4 separate regions of the Homo sapiens genome follow, and regions 1, 3 and 4 are each linked to region 2. Evidence: promoter capture Hi-C in 16 types of primary human blood cells and fetal thymus (Javierre and others, 2016). All regions are on one chromosome and are shown on one strand. The core of a region is centred on a gene start or on the middle of the fragment in contact, and the rest is flanking DNA. Distances in the headings are between cores, read along the strand shown. Region 1 has its middle 8.0 kb from the start of ASB4. Region 2 holds the start of CASD1 (CAS1 domain sialic acid O acetyltransferase 1). Region 3 overlaps PPP1R9A (protein phosphatase 1 regulatory subunit 9A). Region 4 overlaps PPP1R9A (protein phosphatase 1 regulatory subunit 9A).

What was found. Contacts are between HindIII fragments. The CHiCAGO score rates a contact against its expected background, and 5 or more counts as called.
Region 1: a contact is called between a fragment that was not itself captured here and the fragment with the promoter of CASD1 in region 2, in 15 of 17 cell types (total CD8 T cells, naive CD8 T cells, fetal thymus and 12 more). The highest score is 16.8, in total CD8 T cells.
Region 3: a contact is called between a fragment that was not itself captured here and the fragment with the promoter of CASD1 in region 2, in 2 of 17 cell types (M2 macrophages and M0 macrophages). The highest score is 5.9, in M2 macrophages.
Region 4: a contact is called between a fragment that was not itself captured here and the fragment with the promoter of CASD1 in region 2, in 2 of 17 cell types (M2 macrophages and M0 macrophages). The highest score is 8.6, in M2 macrophages.

The regions. Positions count from the first base shown.
Region 1 is chr7:95,475,559-95,480,355 of GRCh38, forward strand. It overlaps a transcript of ASB4 not described here. Among named protein-coding and RNA genes, the nearest start is that of ASB4, 8.0 kb to the right of the region's middle. The HindIII fragment of the contact is 872 bases long and covers 1,177-2,048 here.
Region 2 is chr7:94,508,455-94,512,745 of GRCh38, forward strand. CASD1 (CAS1 domain sialic acid O acetyltransferase 1) reads left to right here and starts at 1,355. Exons shown (of 18, transcript NM_022900.5): 1 at 1,355-1,763. The coding sequence starts at 1,631. RefSeq lists enhancers at 640-1,628, 1,629-2,615 and silencers at 1,149-1,368, 1,409-1,558, 1,659-2,018. The HindIII fragment of the contact is 8,005 bases long and covers 1-4,100 here.
Region 3 is chr7:95,102,530-95,106,931 of GRCh38, forward strand. The region is part of intron 2 of PPP1R9A (protein phosphatase 1 regulatory subunit 9A); the gene reads left to right. The region is part of intron 3 of PPP1R9A-AS1 (PPP1R9A antisense RNA 1); the gene reads right to left. Among named protein-coding and RNA genes, the nearest start is that of PPP1R9A-AS1, 110 kb to the right of the region's middle. The HindIII fragment of the contact is 1,276 bases long and covers 2,380-3,655 here.
Region 4 is chr7:95,199,723-95,204,427 of GRCh38, forward strand. It overlaps PPP1R9A (protein phosphatase 1 regulatory subunit 9A), which reads left to right. Exons shown (of 20, transcript NM_001166160.2): 7 at 3,943-4,008. The region is part of intron 1 of PPP1R9A-AS1 (PPP1R9A antisense RNA 1); the gene reads right to left. Among named protein-coding and RNA genes, the nearest start is that of PPP1R9A-AS1, 12 kb to the right of the region's middle. The HindIII fragment of the contact is 3,396 bases long and covers 159-3,554 here.

The DNA.
Region 1 (4,797 bases), core at 363-2,862, 970 kb after region 2:
TTTTTAGTAGAGATGGGGTTTCACCATGTTGGCCAGGCTGGTCTCAAACTCCTGACCTCAGGTGATCCACCCACCTCAGCTTCCCAAAGTGCTGAGATTACAGGCATGAGCCACCGTGCCCGGCCTTGAATTTATTTAATAGCTAAATTGCTCTACTTGCATTCAAGGTCTTCTGTCTTTATAAAACCAAATCATGTATTCCAGTGTCATCTTCTATTTTTCCTGCTCATATTCTTTATCTTTTAGTAAAATTAGATGGCCATTCTCTCCCCCATCTCTAATCCTTGCCATGAGCTGGCAAGGTTGTGAAGAATCTTTACTTAGTTAAGATTTATGGGGTGCCTTCCTAAATGGCATCACAGTGTAAACAAAGAAATCAAATCACCTGAACTTTTCGGTCTCTATATATCAAGATCCCAAGATCCTATTTCAAATACCATTTCCTCTGTGAAATCTTTCTTGATTCCTCAAACCGAATGGTGTGATCTTTCCTTTTTATAATGCCAGCTCCCTGTGTTTCGTATTTCTGGCACAGTAGATTCTGGTCTGCCTTATTGTATAACCAGTATGGTCTAATTTCATTCGTCTATAAGTTCTTGAGATTGGGGCTGAATCCTACACATCTGTCGGTCCCTACTACACCTATCACAGTGTCAGACACCTAATAATAACTCAGTCAATAGTGTTCAAATTGTGGTATGCAGCGGCAAGGCTTCCAGCCCAGCCCAGAGTCATCGGATAGCTTTCAGCCAAGGCTGTTAGCTGTGTGAGGTAGGTGCGTATTGCATGCTTGTCCCAAAATATTCTCTTGCAGGTGACTGACATTCTTTTTTATATTTAAAAAAAAATTTATAGAAAGCTCACAGCCCATGTTTAAAATACAAAATTCACCTATGAGAAATCAAGAAATGGAAGGAAGATCTAGAGGACAAGCCTAGCTCTTTTACCCCCTGGAGCAATCAAGGGGCAGCTACAGACACTAGAAAAGACCAGGGCTGGGAAACGGGAACAATATCTTTGATTTCACAGTCTTGCCTGGGGCCTTGACTGACAGTAGCTGCTGCTTTAACCTCCATCTGTGGCTTCACGCCTTTTTAGAAAGGACTCAGGAAATCACACTCTGGTCTTATAGGGAATATTTTCAGCCTAGGAGAAAAATTGTGAGCATGAGAAGCAAGCTTGTCTTGCTTTCCCACACCCAAAGACAGAGACTCATAAGACAACGGTCTGTAAAGAATCTGGAGACACATGGTATGAAACATTTTTAGCTTATTATTTTGAATGTTCTTCTTAATACCATTGTAGCAAAAACAAACAATAAAGGGACAACCCACTCCTCCTCCAAACAATGTTTAATTTATGTATTTGTTAGATACATATTGAAATTTATTTTATGAAATCATAAACCAATAGCAAATTCTCAGTAGAGAAATTCATTGTAGGAAAATATGATCAGGAAAGATATGGTTTACGTGGATTAAAACAAAATTTTTAAAATCCATATTTGTGGTTTAACCTGGATCACGTTTTATCCGCATTGGCTTGGATTTTTTTTTTTTCCCCAGGATACTGCAGCTGTTCTTCCGGGTTCATTTATCGAGGAACACTGCCATCATGTGGCCTGACGTGTTAACACAGTCCCTAAAAGACAACTAGCAGCACGGTTTTAATTTTGATTCTCTCTCTAGAAAAACGTTTGTGGCTTTAAAATGTGCTTCGTTATTTGAAGCTGTGTTTGTTAATACCTTTCTGAAATGGCATCCTTAAAATATTTGCCAAAGGGTCAACTCTACGTCACCTTTTGAATTTCTCAAGTATATAGTTATCACATCAAAAAATATATAAAATAATAATTGAACATTGCTCATTTTATAAATTTGTCAAGTTTTCACAAATTTATCTACTGTAAAAAGAGTGGAATGCTTTGCTTATATACACTAGTGTGGCTGCTTATTTTTTCTTTACACTATCAGTTTAGGGAGAGGAGATGCAAAACTATAGAAAACTACAGAAAGGCAGCGTTGTGTAGTTCAAAAACTAAAGTATGAAGCTTGACATTAGGTTGGAGACTTCGCTTTGCGACTAATTAATTATGCAATTTTGTGCAAACATGTAAGTGAGATGGCCTCAGTACTTTTTTTCTTAAATGAGAAGATTTGATACCCTTAACAAGAACCTTTTTTTTTTTTTTTGCTATAATTCTGTGATTCTACAAGCAAAATTAAGTTCTTTTAAAAAGCAAGAGTGTTGTTTCTCTTTAGGTATACTATTTTTCTATGGTTTTCTGAAAATATGTGCCCCCTTTCTCTCCACTCCTCTTTCCCATTCCTAACTGCAGCTTTGTCTGCAAATTTGTTGTGCAATTTTTTTTTTCCTGCAATATCCCATAGTTTTGGTGTTGTGTTGAGGATTGCTCCTTCATGAATTAGATACTTCCATAGTATAAAATAAAACTGATGAATCTTTGCAATTGGTAAACAACTTATTGGCTTCTGACAACTGTGGGTGTAAAAAGAACGTTACAGAGGACAGTCCAATTTCTTTACCCCTTAAAAGGGAAGGATAATTTTTTTTTCTTACTGCACCTCTGCATCATAAATTTGTCAAAAGTAAAAAGAGGATGCAAATGCTGCCTGGAGTACAATTGTGAGGTAAATGTTCTGAAGAGACAAAATTATGGTAAATTATTCCCTCGAGTTGATGTTGTGAAGTGTGTAACTGGGTGAGGGATGGAAATACAAGCTGGTGTTGATGTTTAAACTGTGCTGGACGGCGTGTAAATGCAGGTCAGTTGCTAGGAGACCTGGAACACAGAGCTAATGCCCCCTCTGTGGGGCAGGGATGTTTGATCTGAAAAAACCTTGTCTTTCACAGTCAAAGATGACGTGAAATGAATAGTCTGTCAAAATTCAGGTGGGCCAGTGCTTGGTTACTGCTTATGTCAATCCAGCCATTCTGACATCCACCACCTGTAAAGAGAGTCGCTGAAACGGAACAATCTAGCATCGTGCCAGCGACCAAGATTCTCCGGAAACACTCAGGGTAATTAGCTACGAATTCTTTAAATACTCTTACATGAAAGGCAGCTGGTTTGTTCGCTGATATGGGATCCAAGAAGTGGGCAGTAGCGGCTAAATAATTACTTCAGCATTCCAAAGAGAGGGATGCCAGGCCACAAATAGAGTTCCAAGCGAAGATGTGCTTGCGTAGGACTTTGGACCCTCCCGTTTACAAAGCAATCATTTCTGCCATTTGTGAGGATTGTTGAACAGATTTTATGTTAAACACACATGCTCCCAGTATGTAATTACAATTGAGAATGAATACGCCGAACTTTAGCGCTGAAGCATCTTAGCAGTTCTTCCAGCGCCCCCAACTGCTTGAAGACAGAACCTGAATCAGTCTGTGGACAAGGGCAGCCCATAACATGGCTGCCACAGGGAAGACTTTCAAAAAATCTCAGCAAGGTCTTCTGCCCTTGCAAAATGGTATTAATCTTTGCCAATGTCCAGGACACTGTGTTCCATAAGGGAGAAAAAAGCCCTAAAGGCTGAGGAGTGTGTCTAGTAGGTCTCATTTTACTTACAGGAAAAGAAGTCACTGAGAGGTATTTTGAATTATTTGAAACACACAGCTTATGACCACCAGAGCTGGGAATACGATCCAGGTGTCTCAGTCTGACGGTCTTTCACCATAACACCACTTAGTATTTCTCAGGAAAAATTGTGATGTTCTATTAGTCCACTGATATGAACAACAGTAATAATATGTAACTCTCCTATAATGCTTCACAATATGCAAAGTACGTTTATATACGTTGTTTCATGTGATTTTTACAACCCTGGTAATTATTCTTATGAAATAGTATGCTTAGTCCACAGAATTGATCTGTATTGTTATAAAAGTATAGTTTTAATTGTACTAGCTTGCTGGCTCTTTATTATAATATTGTGGCCATGCCCCCAAATCAAGATGGCCTCTGGGAATAGATCATTGAAATCCTAATGTGGTTTGAAAATTTTTTGTGTGTTTGCCCCACTTTTTTGTGTTAAATATTGAATATCCACTGATAAAATATGCACTTTATTGCTTGTCTACAGAAGAAACAAAACTATCATCAATTATAAGCCATTTTGGAGAACCTACTATGTATCAGGCCTAGAACACAGCAGATATGAGGATGCTGTTGTGGGTTTAGCTTTGAGAGAATTGGACTTGGGTTCAAGAAGTAGAAGAAAGGAAATAAATGCATATTCATCAGTTATACTCCTAAGCTTCATTGAGCTTCAAAAATATCTGAAAAGAGGTGCAGGCATCTGAATAGGATGGCTTCCTGGTGTCCCTTCCTGTTTCTTGTCTCAGGGTCTTAGAATCTGCTGCTCCCATGGCCTAGAAATCTCTTTCCCTAAATATCAGCATAGCTTATTCCCGCAATTCAAGTTTTTGTTCAAGGCAAGTGAATACTTCTCTGACCATTTATTTGAATTTGCAGTGCTTTCCAGGGCCATAACACCTTCCCAGGACCAACCTGGAAGTGGAGGAGACTTTTCTTACTTGTTGGTCCACAGGAGCACACCTTGTTCTGATCTATACAAGGGTGGCTTATGGTGTGGCTGCAATCCTAGACCTTACCCAGTTTACTTTTCTTGGTAGCACATATTACCATGTGACAAACTATATATCTTACTGTCTGTTTTTTTGTCTGTTCCCTTGTAGCCCCTCCACTGGTATAAAAGCTCCATAAAGGTAAAGATTTTAACATGCTTTCTTTGTGTATCTGCAGTACTTATAAAAAGT
Region 2 (4,291 bases), core at 105-2,604:
AGATCTCTACAGTCCCTTCATATCTAATATTCTATAATTTTAAGAGGGGCCTATAAGCACAAGTTCAGGAATGGCTAAATGGGAAAGTTGTAAAGAATACTTGACAACACCCCAACTAAACAATGACTCACTCTAAACAAGGCAAGGCAAGTAGAATGGCAAGCAATGTAAATAACCATTCCCATCTGGAAGGCAACAAGAAAAACCATTTAAAAAAGGTGGGGTGGGAGCGAGAGGAGAGTAGGGATAACAATGCTTTATTAAGGAAATGGAGTGCTGGCTTTATTGAGAATCACAAAACATTAACCAACGTTAGTAGCGGGGATGATTGTCATAAGCACATTAAGAAAAATTTTTTTTGGCTAGGCTTGGTGGCTCATGCCTGTAATCCCAGCACTTTGGGAGGCCGAGATGGGCAGATCATTTGAGGTCAGGAGTTCGAGACCAGCCTGACCAAAATGGTGAAACCCCCGTCTCTATTAAAATACAAAAATTAAACGGGTGTGGTGGCGGGCGCCTGCAATCTCTGCTACTCGGCAGGCTCAGGCAGGACAACCATTTGAACCCAGGAGGGGGAGGCTGCAGTGAGCGAAGATCACGCCACTGCACTAGAGCTTGGGCGACAGGGTGAGACTCCCTCTCAAAAAAAACGAATTTTTTTGGCACATCGACCTAGCCAAACTTGCGTAAATACAAGTGAGAGTCAGACTCTTTTCTCATCAACACCTACACTAAGTTAGGCTCCTTCTGTACCTTCCATTCGGAACTTTGGTGTACTTTCGCCCACCAGAACTGGGCAAACTGAGGACATTAAAAAAACGGTTTAAGAGAAACTGGCCAGAGCGGTGAGTTAAGTGTTAAGACTGGTTTCACTCCTGGGTTGGATGCCAGCAATCCATCGGCCAGCACCATCAACTGGATCCATCAATCCAATCTGGCCAGCACCCAGGGGCAGCCAGACTGACCAGCCAGGCCACGGATAGCCAGACAATAAACGACCTTAGGGTGTCCTTCGCATCCCGCTGGGCGGGTTCTGGCAGTAGAAGGCTGAGAAAGGGGAGTGTTGGGGAAGGAAGGAATGGGACGATGTGTACTTTTCTCCCGGAACTGTAGTTCTATTGCCCCAACCTGGGCTCAGGTAGCGGCCAGTAAACTAGGAGACAGCCCTAAGGCTCGCGTCCGGGCCAGGCGGGTACCCCTAGTACTCTCTCCCCACACCCCCATGGCTCTGCCGCAGCCGCCGCCGCCCGCCGGGGCGCGTGACCCGGTGACCCCGGAGCACTGGGCATCCGGACCCCCCTCGCAGGCGCAGCCGCTATTAAGGCAGGAGGCTAAAGAGGAGGAGGAAGGGGAGGAGACAGGCGTCCAGGGCGCCTGGGGAACCGGCACGGCGGAGCAGCGGCGGCGGGGCTGGGGGGAGGCCGCCGAGTCGGCCGCGGCCGAGGAGGGGCAGGCGGAGGTCGGGGGCGCCGCGGCCGCGGGGTCAGGTTCCCCGGCGGGAGGCGCAGGTGGCGGCCTGGGGAGCTGGCGGCCGCTCCTCGCCTGGCTGCAGCGGCGGCAGCCCCAGTGCTGCCCCTGTGCGGCGCCCCTTTCCCGCTCCGCCGCGCACTGTTGTCATGGAGGAACCAAGATGGCGGCTCTGGCCTACAACCTGGGCAAGCGGGAGATCAACCACTACTTCAGCGTGAGGAGCGCCAAGGTGCTGGCGCTGGTGGCCGTGCTGCTGCTCGCAGCGTGCCACCTCGCCTCCCGCCGCTACCGAGGTGAGCGGGCCCTCCCCTCTGCCCGGGCAGGCCGTGGGGGAGGCGGCGACGCGGCGGCTGGAGGCCGCCCCCATCGCCCAACACACGCCCACGCGGCCTTCCGCCGGCCCGGCCCGCGGGGGAGGCGGTTCCCCCAGGTGTCCCCAGCAGCGGCCGGCGCCCGAGGCCAACTGAGTGGACCCCAGTGGGGGCCACCAAAGGACAATGGCTGGTGGTTCTGGGCGCCCCGAGCCGCCCGCGCTGGGGTCGGGGGCGCCAACCCTGGACCTGGCCAAAAGTGCTGCTGAGGTCCGGCTCCTGAGCGGTCTGGGTTCGGGGAGACGCTCCAGATCAGGGGCTCGCGTGCAGGAAGTCGGACAGGCGGTCCTTGGGGGCAGCCCGGGGCGCATGAAGCCCAAGGCCGCCCTGCAAGGGGCACCGCTGCCAGCAGTGGGGTCGCAGGTCCTGCCTCTTAAGGGTCCGGCTCCTTAGCCTTTGTTTAATTTTGCCTCTGCCCTGTAACACCCAGTCTGGGCTGTTGGACAGCGGCAAGGGCCGCCCCCATTTTCCTTTGCCAAAAGGGCGACAGCTGGCAAAAGATGCCTGTGGCCAAATGGAAGAGGTGCCACCCAGCTTTTGTGATGCAGAAACGTTTAAAGGCTTCGGAGTGCACACTTTTTACAAAGTTAAGGCACCAGAGCAGATTTTTGGAAGGAAGTTGTGGGTTGACAGGCGTAAAGGTGGGCAGTTGAAAGCAAGTTGTAAGCACTTTGAAAGCAGGCCTTGGCCATGGGTTTTGAAATTGGTGTAAAGGGGAAAAGGAAATATGACCTGATTTGAGAATGAATTATCTTTCAGTAATCAAGGGATATTTACTTCTCCTTGCTGATTGATTGTTTTTTTTCCTTTGTAAAAATGTCACTGGGAGAGAGGCTGACAGGCAGAGGGAAATTAATAATGATAGGATCTTTTATTTTTGGCTCTTAATACTATCAAAGCCATTATCTGGCCAGCTCTTGGTGACTGTGAGATTAATCAGTCAAGATGTAATGTGTAATGGACAGGTGCAAATTAGCGCTGTGCCCGTTTAAATTTACACCTACTTTGGCAAAATATCCATAAACGGGTTGTTGGAGTCTGCGCTGTATTCTCATCCCAGGAGATCTTTCAATTTTGGTCAGTTTTGCTGCTTTATTTCTTCCAACTCTTGAGAATTAAAAATATTGTACTCTAGAGCCATACTGGGTGAACAGCTTTTAGTATACTAAATTGATTTTAAAAATTAGATTCTTTATAACCTTTTGGCCTCTCTCCAGCTCTCTCCAGATCACAGCCATACGACCTTGCAAGGCCTTGGTTTATCTACAATCATGTAAAACTAGCAATGTTGATGCATTGATTTGTGGTGGTTTTGAGGAAATATTTCTTTTAACTACTATTAATCATTTTATGCCAATTTGGTATAAAAGAACAGTAATTTAATTCAATTTATGTAATGGTAGTAGAGAGAAATTTTATAACTACAGTACTATTGTCCTAAGATAAATAAACATCTAGTCCCCTTCCTTTTATTTTTTTGTGCTTTTTATCTTTTGATAACCTTGGACTACTATTATTTTTAGATTATAGATTTCATCTTATCAAGATCTGTCATCAGCAGGGAGAATAGAATGTCAGATGGGGACTTATGAGTCAGTGTAGCAATCTGGGATTGTTTATAAAGCCTTCTCCAGAAGTAAGTCATCAGTTTCCATAGGTACTTCAGTGCCTTGAGTGTGAAGCATACACCTGGTGAGTGTACTTGCCCAGACTGAATGTCAAGAATTTGAGCTGAAGACTGGGAAAAATAAACATCTTACCAGGAATATCCTCATGCTTTGGCAGTATCAAACTGAGTCAGGTGCAATGCCCTTCACACAAAGATAATCATACATTTGACTCACATTATAACTCTTTAGGACAGAGGTGGCCAATCTTTTGGCTTCCGTGGGCCCCATTGGAAGAAGAAGAACTGTCTTTGGGCCACACATAATATTAACACTCATGATAGCTGATGAGCTTAAAAAAAATTGCAAAAAATCTCGTATCATTTAAAGAAGGTTTACGAATTTGGGCTGCATTCAAAGCCATCCTGGGCCTCCAGCAGCCCAGGCCATGGCTTGGAAAATCTTGCTTTAGAATAAGAAAGGATCTTACATTAGATGAAGGAGATTAGGCTGTGTATTTGGATTTTGAATGTGTGAGTATGAGTGTGCTGAGGCAAGGTAGAGTGAATGCAGTTTGGATATACATATTCAGTATCTCTTGCTTTACAAACTACCGAAAGTAAAGGAAAGAATTACCCACTACAGAAAGTAAAGCTTGGCGAATACTGTGTGCTAACGTTGAGCACTTATATGTCAGGGACTGTTCTACTAAAGGTTTTACATGTTTTAACTCATTTTGTCTTTATAACCATTCTATGAGGTAGATACAATTACCATATTTCACTCCTCTCCACTATTTTTAACATCTTTGTAATCAGGGTGAGTCTTTAAAACTTTGATTGC
Region 3 (4,402 bases), core at 1,768-4,267, 600 kb after region 2:
CCCACAGCGTGTGGCAGCACAAGTTCTCATTGACCGCTGCCTTACATGTGGGCCCCATGCAGTTTCCCCTCAATATTCTTTCCTACTGCAGTCCTAGCTAGGTTGGCTTTTTCTTTTCTAAGCTAGGAGTTTAAGTATGGAAATAATGATATTATCCTTATGAAATGCTTTAACTTGTCAAAAGTGTCTCTGTAACTTGTAGGTGTTGTAAATCTGCGGTCTTATTTCTACTTACTTGTAAGGAAGTCATATTCCTGACTACCTTGTCAAATACCAAAAAGTTCAGTTTTGCAGCCAGAGAATATCCTGTTTGAAAGACTTTGTGATGACTCATTTTATGGGTCAACGTTGGTAGGCCACAGTACCCAGATATGTGGGTAAACATTATTCTAGAGTCTATGAAGTATCTTTTAGATGAGATGAACATTTAAAGCAGTGGGCTAAAGCAGATTACCTTCCTTAACGTGGATTGGCCTCATCAAATTCATTGAAGACCTTCATAGAAGAAGACTGACTTCCATCAGAGAAGAGGGGATTCTGCCAGCAGACTGTCTTTGGACTTGAACTGCAACATTAGTTCTTTCCTGGGTCTCTGGCCTGCAGGCCTACCCTGCAGATTTTGGATTTGCTAGTCCCTACTGTCATATGAGACAATTCCTTAAAATCAATTTTAATATAAATATATATAGTATGTATAAAAAAAACACATATAAAGATATTAATTCTATTTTTCTGGAAAACCTTGACAAACGTAGGCTTCCTTGTGTTGCCGTTTGAACTAGCATGCTCTCTACCTCCCATTATATAGAGTATGTTTGGTTTTTTTTCACTTCTTTTTTTTTTTTTTTTTTGAGACAGTCTCGCTCTGTTGCCCAGGCTGGAGTCTGGAGTGCAGTGGTGCGATCTTGGCTCACTGCAAGCTCCGCCTCCTGGGTTCATGCCATTCTCCCGCCTCAGCCTCCTGAGTAGCTGGGACTACAGGCACCTGCCATCACGCCCAGCTAATTTTTTTGTATTTTTAGTAGAGACGGGGTTTCACCGTGTTAGCCAGGTTGGTCTAGATCTCCTGACCTGGTGATCCGCCTGCCTCGGCCTCCCAAAGTGCTGGGATTACAGGCGTGAGCCCCCACGCCCAGCCCAACTTCTTGTTCTTTAGTAATCCATTAAAACACTAGGCTTACAATTAGTGAAATGTACTTTTTGTCCTAATAGACTTTGTCTTATATATAGCATGTGTATTGTCCTCTGAACTTCTCGTGTAAAAATATGAAAAACCGTGGGAACTCTCTTTACCCTTTTCTGCCTTACTCCCTAGATTGGTTGGTAAAGAGATAATTTGTGTAAAGTGCTATATTGTCTATAATTTAAAGTACTTTGGCATATATAACATAATATTTATGGGAGTAACTTTGTTTTAGGACCCTTTAGTTAATTTTCTAGGTATTTCAATCATGAATCCACACACTAGGATTAGTAAGTTATTATTTGAAAGACACTGATTAGAAGCCTGCACCCAGATATTGGTACTTTAAATCTACACAAGACAATGTATTAACGTTAAGTATGCTACAAATAATTGGTGAAATGAATGATGTTGAAGATACAGGGGTTAGCCTTAGAAATATTTTATGTAACTAGACTTTGGGTCAGGCGAGGCTTGCAGATTAACAGCTTTTGGAGTAATAACCTAACTAGTACTCCATTTGATCCTGTTTTGTGGTATGTAGGATTCTGGTGAGTGATCCACTTAGAAGGTTAAATGTATCCTACTGTAGAATGTAGTTGCAACTGCTTTAAGTAAACCTTTCACACAGGCTACTTTTCAAAATGACTTTTAAGGACAGAAATCTGGGATTTTAGAGTTTTATGAGATAGGCCTATGAGTCTGTTTTTTGCACCTTCCAGTTAAGCAATGTTTTTACATGAGCAGAATTTAGTTTGAAATTTCTTTTCATTGTAACATACTCCTTATGTTAAAAGCTTGCAGAGGAGTAGACTAAAGCCCTCAGCTGTTTACATCTTTGGAGACTACCAGTGTTTACCCTAAATTGTCTGATGATTATAAACTCCAGTTTGGCTTACTTCATTTTGCAGCAAGCACCTAACATACTCCCGGGCACACACTGGACAATCAATACACTAGATAATTCTACCTATTGTCGATCAGTGAACTAACCTTAATTTGGGGGAAGAAAAGGAAAGTTGAGATTATACATTGCTCTAAAGCTATTAGAATCCTCCTTTGTGAGGCTTGCCAGGTTGGTTTTTGGAATGTTAATATGTGGCTATCTTCTCCAGGCTTATTGTTAGTTTCAATTTAGAGCTTATTTTGCAGAGCCACTGAAATCATGTGAAGGTGAGTCAGGGTTCTGCCAAGGAAGCTTGTGATGAGTGTAACCTGTTTGTGGAAGCATGTGAATGTTTGGCTTATCTCCAGGAGCACACTTTGCTAGCCATCATCTGAAACTCAGCATGCTAGGACCTGGAACATTTTTCATCTTTGATGTGTCAGGAAGATTTTACAGAACCTGGACCATAGCCTGAACTGAGACCGTGTGGAAGCATTGTGGGAGATTCCTTCCAGTCAGTATTTATAGAATATGCTGAATTTATTTAGACCTGCATTGATTAAAGAAAATGTGTCATAAAGAAGTGAAGGAAATAAGTTTTTTTCTTATTGTTGAAAATGTATTGCTGCTGTTTTGAAAAAGTGTTGTGGTTCAAACTACTGAAAATGTATATAAGATAATGATTCTAGTTGAAATCTTAAAATAAGCTAATTTTTACTTTATTTGCTTTTCATAGCCTTGGGTTGTTCGTTCAGAAATGTCCTTGCTAACCGTGTTTGTAAACTTGTTACCCCTGAAAGCCTGTCTCTGCTGTGAAGCAGTGGATGAGGTCTTGTTTTGTTTCCTTTGATCGAGAAACCAGAATATCACTTATTGGCTCTGAAACAAGAAGTCTTAAATTTAAACATCTTTTGTTTACTTTTCTCAGTGAAATAAAACAGGAACAATGTGAAGGTAGCTTGAACTACAAAAATACATATATCTTGTTGGTGTTGAACATTAGGACTCAGAATGCTGTTGGCCTTTAGAGTTTTTTGTGTTGCTGGAATACCAGGAGGAGTCATGCTCTGATTATTATCTGATTAATTATCCATTTTTTTGTAGAGCAATTAAGGTTAATAAAAATAATAGAACTATTGTAAGAAAATGGAAAGAATCAAGATCATGTAGATGAAAGGGCTTCCTGGTCAGAGAAAACACAGAAAGCCTGGCAGGCCATGAGCCATTGTGTAATGACAGTGCATTGCTCTAGACATAGGTGGGGATTTTGGCAGCCTAATCTATGTTCTAATACTAAGTCAGTTATGCAGATTTTTGCTTAAAGGGCATTAAACATCCTAGTGGGTGATATATTCAAAACATGTTTATGAAAGAGAGTATGAGGCTGGGCTCATGCCTATAATCCCAGTACTTTGGGAGACCAAGGTGGAAGGATCGTTTGAGGCCAAGAGATCAAGACCAGCCTGTGCAATATGGTGAGACCCCAATCTCTATTAAAAATGTTTTTAAATTTAATTTAAAAAAAGAGAGTATGATATGGGTAGTAGGTATCAGGGGAAATATTATCCCTCATATTACCCTGAGAAAGCTTTTCCTCTCCCCTCATTGAACCAAGCATAATTACATGGACTATTTCATTTTATTTTCCTAATACTCTTATGGGGATAGGCATTATTATAAAAACCATTTTGTAAATAAGGAGACTGCGCCTTAGCATGGTTTTACAACTTGGCAAGTGCTACATAGCTAGGGAATTTAGGGGGCTTTAAATTAGGTTAAAATTGGGACCATACCAATTGGGGATCGTATGAATTGGGAATATCTTTCTCTTTATCTGCAGCATGCTCTTCAGCTTAACGATGTATGTATCTTGGGGTCTTCCATGTCAGTAGAGAGATATACATCTCTTCAATCACTGCATTGAATTACATATTTGTATATATCATGATTTAGCAAGCCATTTTCTCTACTGGTGGACAATTAGGCAATTTCCTGCTTTGGGCTATTACAGATAGTGCTGTAATGAACTTCTTTTGAAATACATCTTTGTACACATTTGCAAGTATTTCTGTAAACACTTAAATGTGACATGATTATGTAAAAGACATTTACATTTAAAATATTGATAACTACTTTCTAGTTATGCTTTCCTCTTCAAAAGTATCCTTTTTTTCTATATCCTCACAAACACTGGATGTTGTAGTCTTTTTTTTGTTTGTTTTTTTGAGTCTTATTATGTCACCCAGGCTTGAGTGCAATGGCATGATTTTAGCTCACTGCAACCTCTGCCTCCCAGGTTCAAGCAATTCTGCCACAGCCTCCCGAGGTGCACG
Region 4 (4,705 bases), core at 607-3,106, 690 kb after region 2:
CATTACACTGAGATATTTTGTATGAAAAATGTTCTCTTGAATTTTCAAACTAAAAAAGGGATTTCCTCAAATATTTTGAACTTGTATCTTACCTGGTTTTCAATTCTTTACATTAGTATTTTGTATTTTATCAGAGACACTGATTTGCTTTTGCTGCAAGCTTATTCTGAGATTGTAGAATCATTTTCTGCAGGTTTGATTTTTGCGTCCTCACTGTGCTAGGATTTTTGGTCTTAGGTTCAGGGGAGTACAGTGACATCAAGTGGTGGAAGGGGACATGGCCAGGCTTTCTAGTCTGTGTGCCTTGGTGTCTTTGGCATGAAAGCACAGGGATTGGGCTAGATCACAAAATTCCTTCCAGCTTCTAATGTTCCATGAATATGAAATAAGACATCAAGTCTAACAAGCAGAGGGGGCAAAGAAAGAAGATAGTCACATTTTTAAGGCACTCCAAGTAAAACATTTAGATCACAGACCACACATTTTCTGCAGGTATTTTGAGGCGCTGATCACATTCATCCCCAAAAGTTGATATAAAATTTTGCTCTTTTTTTTTTTTTACGACACAGGGTCTTGCTCTGCCACCCAGGCTGGAGTGCAGTGGTGCAAGCATAGCTCACTATATCCTTGAGCTCCTGGGCTCAAGCCAACCTCCTGCCTTGCCTCAGCCTCCTGAGTAGCTGGGGCAACAAGCACACAGAACCACATCCTGCTAATTAAAAAAAAAAAATTTTTTTTTTATAGATGAGGTCTCACTATGTTGTCCAGGCCTGTCTTGAACTCCTGGCCTCAAGCAGTCCTCCTGCCTCAGCCTTCCAAAGTGCTGGGATTACAGGTGTGAGCCACCCTACCTGGCCCAGATTTTTCTTTAACTTGATAATTGGAATAGATGGAAAAAGAATAGTTTTTACTTGACATTTATACTTAGGAATGTATCACATCTTAAATGGAAGATTGTTTATAGATTTTTTTTGTTTGCCTGTTTTTGTAAAGTAATCAGAGTTGTCACCTGAGCAGATATTTTCAGGGGCAAGGAAATTAAGTAAATATTCAGTGGCAAGCACTTTGCAAGGTGTCTTTCTTACATGATCTCATTTAATCTTTAATGCAGCCAGAAGAGATTTTCTTTTTTTCCCTAGAAATGCAGCAACTGAGGTTTTTTTCTAGTGGTACATCCAGTAGCTGGCAGAGTTGAAATTGGAATAAAGTCTTGCTGGCTCCAAAGCCTGGACTCTTTGCAACACACTGTGCTGTTTTTGAGTAGCATGTAAGAACACTCCTGCAGACACAGAATAACTGGGTAACAAAAGATGTTAAGAGAATTACTGTTTGCGGTGATGGAGTTTAGGTTCTATGATTCTTTGTTCTGTATTTCTAATAATAGGGAAATCAAGTCTTTGGATAATTATTTTCTCTATGCAACAGTCCATAAGAATCATCTTTATAGAGTTTAAAGAGAAGAATAATTGAGTACTCAAATTTTTTTTAATTAGTTTAGCTTTAAGTTAAACTGTTTTTCTTTCTGCAAGTTGTAGAAGTAAAAACGAGGTGCTTGCTATGTTACTCCAAGTAACTCACTTTATGGAAAAAAGTCAAGGAGACTTCTCCTTTGTATCTGTCTCTCATCCTCTGTGACTTGGGTTTTTTCCCTTTCTTGTATGTTACACACTGCCTCAACAAAACATGCCCAGATAAAACCAACTGTTAATTTTCAGTGCATAGGAGAGATGAAAGCTGTACAAATAGTGAAAATCCACTCCAATGTTAAAACTTCAAATTGTCACTTGATTCAAATTCTTTTTTCTAATGCTGAAAAAATTATTAAATGGATTGATTTGAGTGCTTTTTCCCTATTTTCTATTTACTCTCTGTCTTTCTTTGTGAATGAAGAATAAAATGTCCAAGAGGCATAAAGGAAATGAGAAGAACAAATATTGGATAGCTAATGGATAAATGCTCCTTGAATAATTGAGTTAATTTCATATATAATTGAACAATTTATTGATTAGTATATCTTTGTTAATCAGTCACTTGGTTTTTTTACTTTTATGATTTATAGAATCATCTTGTGATTTCAAAGTTAGAGTTATTTTTATTTGACAGTATCTCCTGTGACATTCCCTGCACCAGCCAGGAAAACCTCCATTTAGATACAGAACAACCAAGTTCATCCAACTGATTTCCAGAGCCAGCTCTTAGTCAGCATTTTCTGCTGAAGGATAGATAGCTTCTGTTTTTGATCAAATCATCCAAAGTTGATTGTAACTTGGAACTTGTCACATTGACAGAGGGTATTTGCTTGCTTGCATTCACTACATGGAAAACATCACAATGGGAGAAATAGATCCTGAAATTATAAACCTACAGTGGAGCTCTAAAAACTATATTGAGAAAGATTAACTTACAATATATTGCTTATGCTTAGACATATCTGTTTCAATGCTTTAGGAAATTATAAGTCATACTCTAGTAGAATTTAAGCTATGTAGATAATTTTCAAACTATTTAAATTTCTGCTTTTTCTGTTTTTTTCTTCCTCTACATCTTTAGAAGGGTTTAAAATAAGCAAACAGCCAATTTTATTTTAATTTGCATCCCTGTTTTTGTTTACTCTCTGTTAAACATTCTGATTAAAAAAAAATGTTAAAATGGCTCTGCCTAAAAGCTGTAGAATAAAAAGGAGGATCCTATTTAAGAAGAGGGAGATGAATATTTGAACAATTGAAAAATTTTAAATGTATATCTGAATATATCTGTGATTCATGATTTAATTTCTGTTTAATCGAAGTATTGATCACTTGTTTTTTTTTTCTTTCTTTCTCTTTTCTTTTTTTTAATAATCTGAAAGGTTGCCATGGAGGATTTCAATAAATCTCTCAGACAATCAGCACTATTTCATGACACTCGGGGGGTATGATAAATTTTTCAACTAGAATTTAACTTTTTAGTAACATTTAATCTCTTGTCATACTCCACCACTATCAGTTTGTAGCCTTTTAGTAGTGAGATGATGTAATTATGGTATATATTTTGTGTAGTGTGTATATATTATGAGTATTTTTTATTTAAGAGCATTATGCCGTTTGAAATGCTGCAGGCTTAGACTGGAAATACAGTATGAACTAGTGCTATATTCCATTTTTGAGTTAGAAAATAGGTATGGTCATTGAAATTAAAATAAAGTATTACACTTTAAAAATTATGATTATTTGGCTTCCTTAAATATTCTTTTAAGATATAGTATTTGTTACATTGTAAAGTCTTAGCTATAGATAGCATTTCAAAGTCTCCTTAGGCAGTAGTTCATAAGAAGGTTAATCATCACTCCAGAAACTGAAGCCCCTTCTATACTGAAGCCCCTAAAATATAATTTAATCTTTCTTTCATAATTTGTTTTCATTACTGGAAATTAATATCATTATAACAATATTATAGCAACTTTTTTTTTAGAATCTTTTAAAGTATTGAATACAGTTTAGAGTAGCTGCCCTCATGGGTATGGTTTTTTATTGCTTGTGTTAGCATGTCATAATTAGAGGCAAAAATATAATGGAAGCTTTGGTTTGCATAAGTATTAAAAGGTATACAATAATATAATATTTATGTTATAAAAAGTGTTAGAGGGATAACATTAAGTTTGACTCATACTGTTTGCCATTCCTAGTTGGAAACAGCTTGTGTGTGTAAACAAGAGAATGCAATTATTATGGTTGGCCTTTTAATAATGTGAATATAATAATGTAAATAGACTTTATACTGTATCTATAATACTGAGAAACCAAGAGTGTGGGCATTTTTTACCAACATGCCGCAATATTGTCTTAGTACTTAACAGTGTGTATTACAGTAAGCACTGGGACTCAGTGTTTTTCAATCCTTTATCAGGCTGCTCTCTGCGGTGGGGGTTAAGCCTTCTTTAATATTTTTTGTCAACCATTTTAGAACACTGTGGCTGAATTGCAAGGAATGTCTGGCAACTGCAATAACAATAACAACTATTTTCTTAAGGTTTGTTTTTTGGTTTAAAGTAATGCTTACCTGTACTTTCCTGCTTCATATGTAAAATTAAATATTCTTTGTGTCTTATTAACTATCTGTATGTTCTGAAGAACTTCTCTAGAGTGATGTGTTTTGTGCATTGAATAATAGTTTGAAAATAATCATTCAAAAAACAATTCTGAAACATAGCATATATTTTAGGTATAGGTTCTGCAATTTAGACTCATTTCTTAATATTTAGCCATGGATATTTTTAACCCCTAACACTTTAAATATCTTGTGATTCAAATTAAAGGGAAAAAGCAAATGTCCAACAGCAGGTCTGTATGATGTTTACACAGTAATAATGCACATAGTGATTTATACTGTCTGTAAATCCAGTACTTTTTTAGAAAATAATCTTTTGATACAAAATTCTTGATTTCTCAAAACACTAAATATATCTTTAAATTATAGTAGTATTTAGTTGCATGATTTATATGGTAGACATATCAAAATATCTAAAATATCAAAATATCTAAAATGATACTATACTTTAAATAATAAAATAATTCTCGTTATGTTTAGTTGCTGTTAATATAGATAGCAGTGCTTAAAAATGGAGGTTGAGTGTATGTAAAAGGCAGGCTGATTTATGGCAATTAGAGGAAACTGAAGAATAAAGGAAATATATTTAACAGCCTGTTCACAGACTCCAATTTGGTCT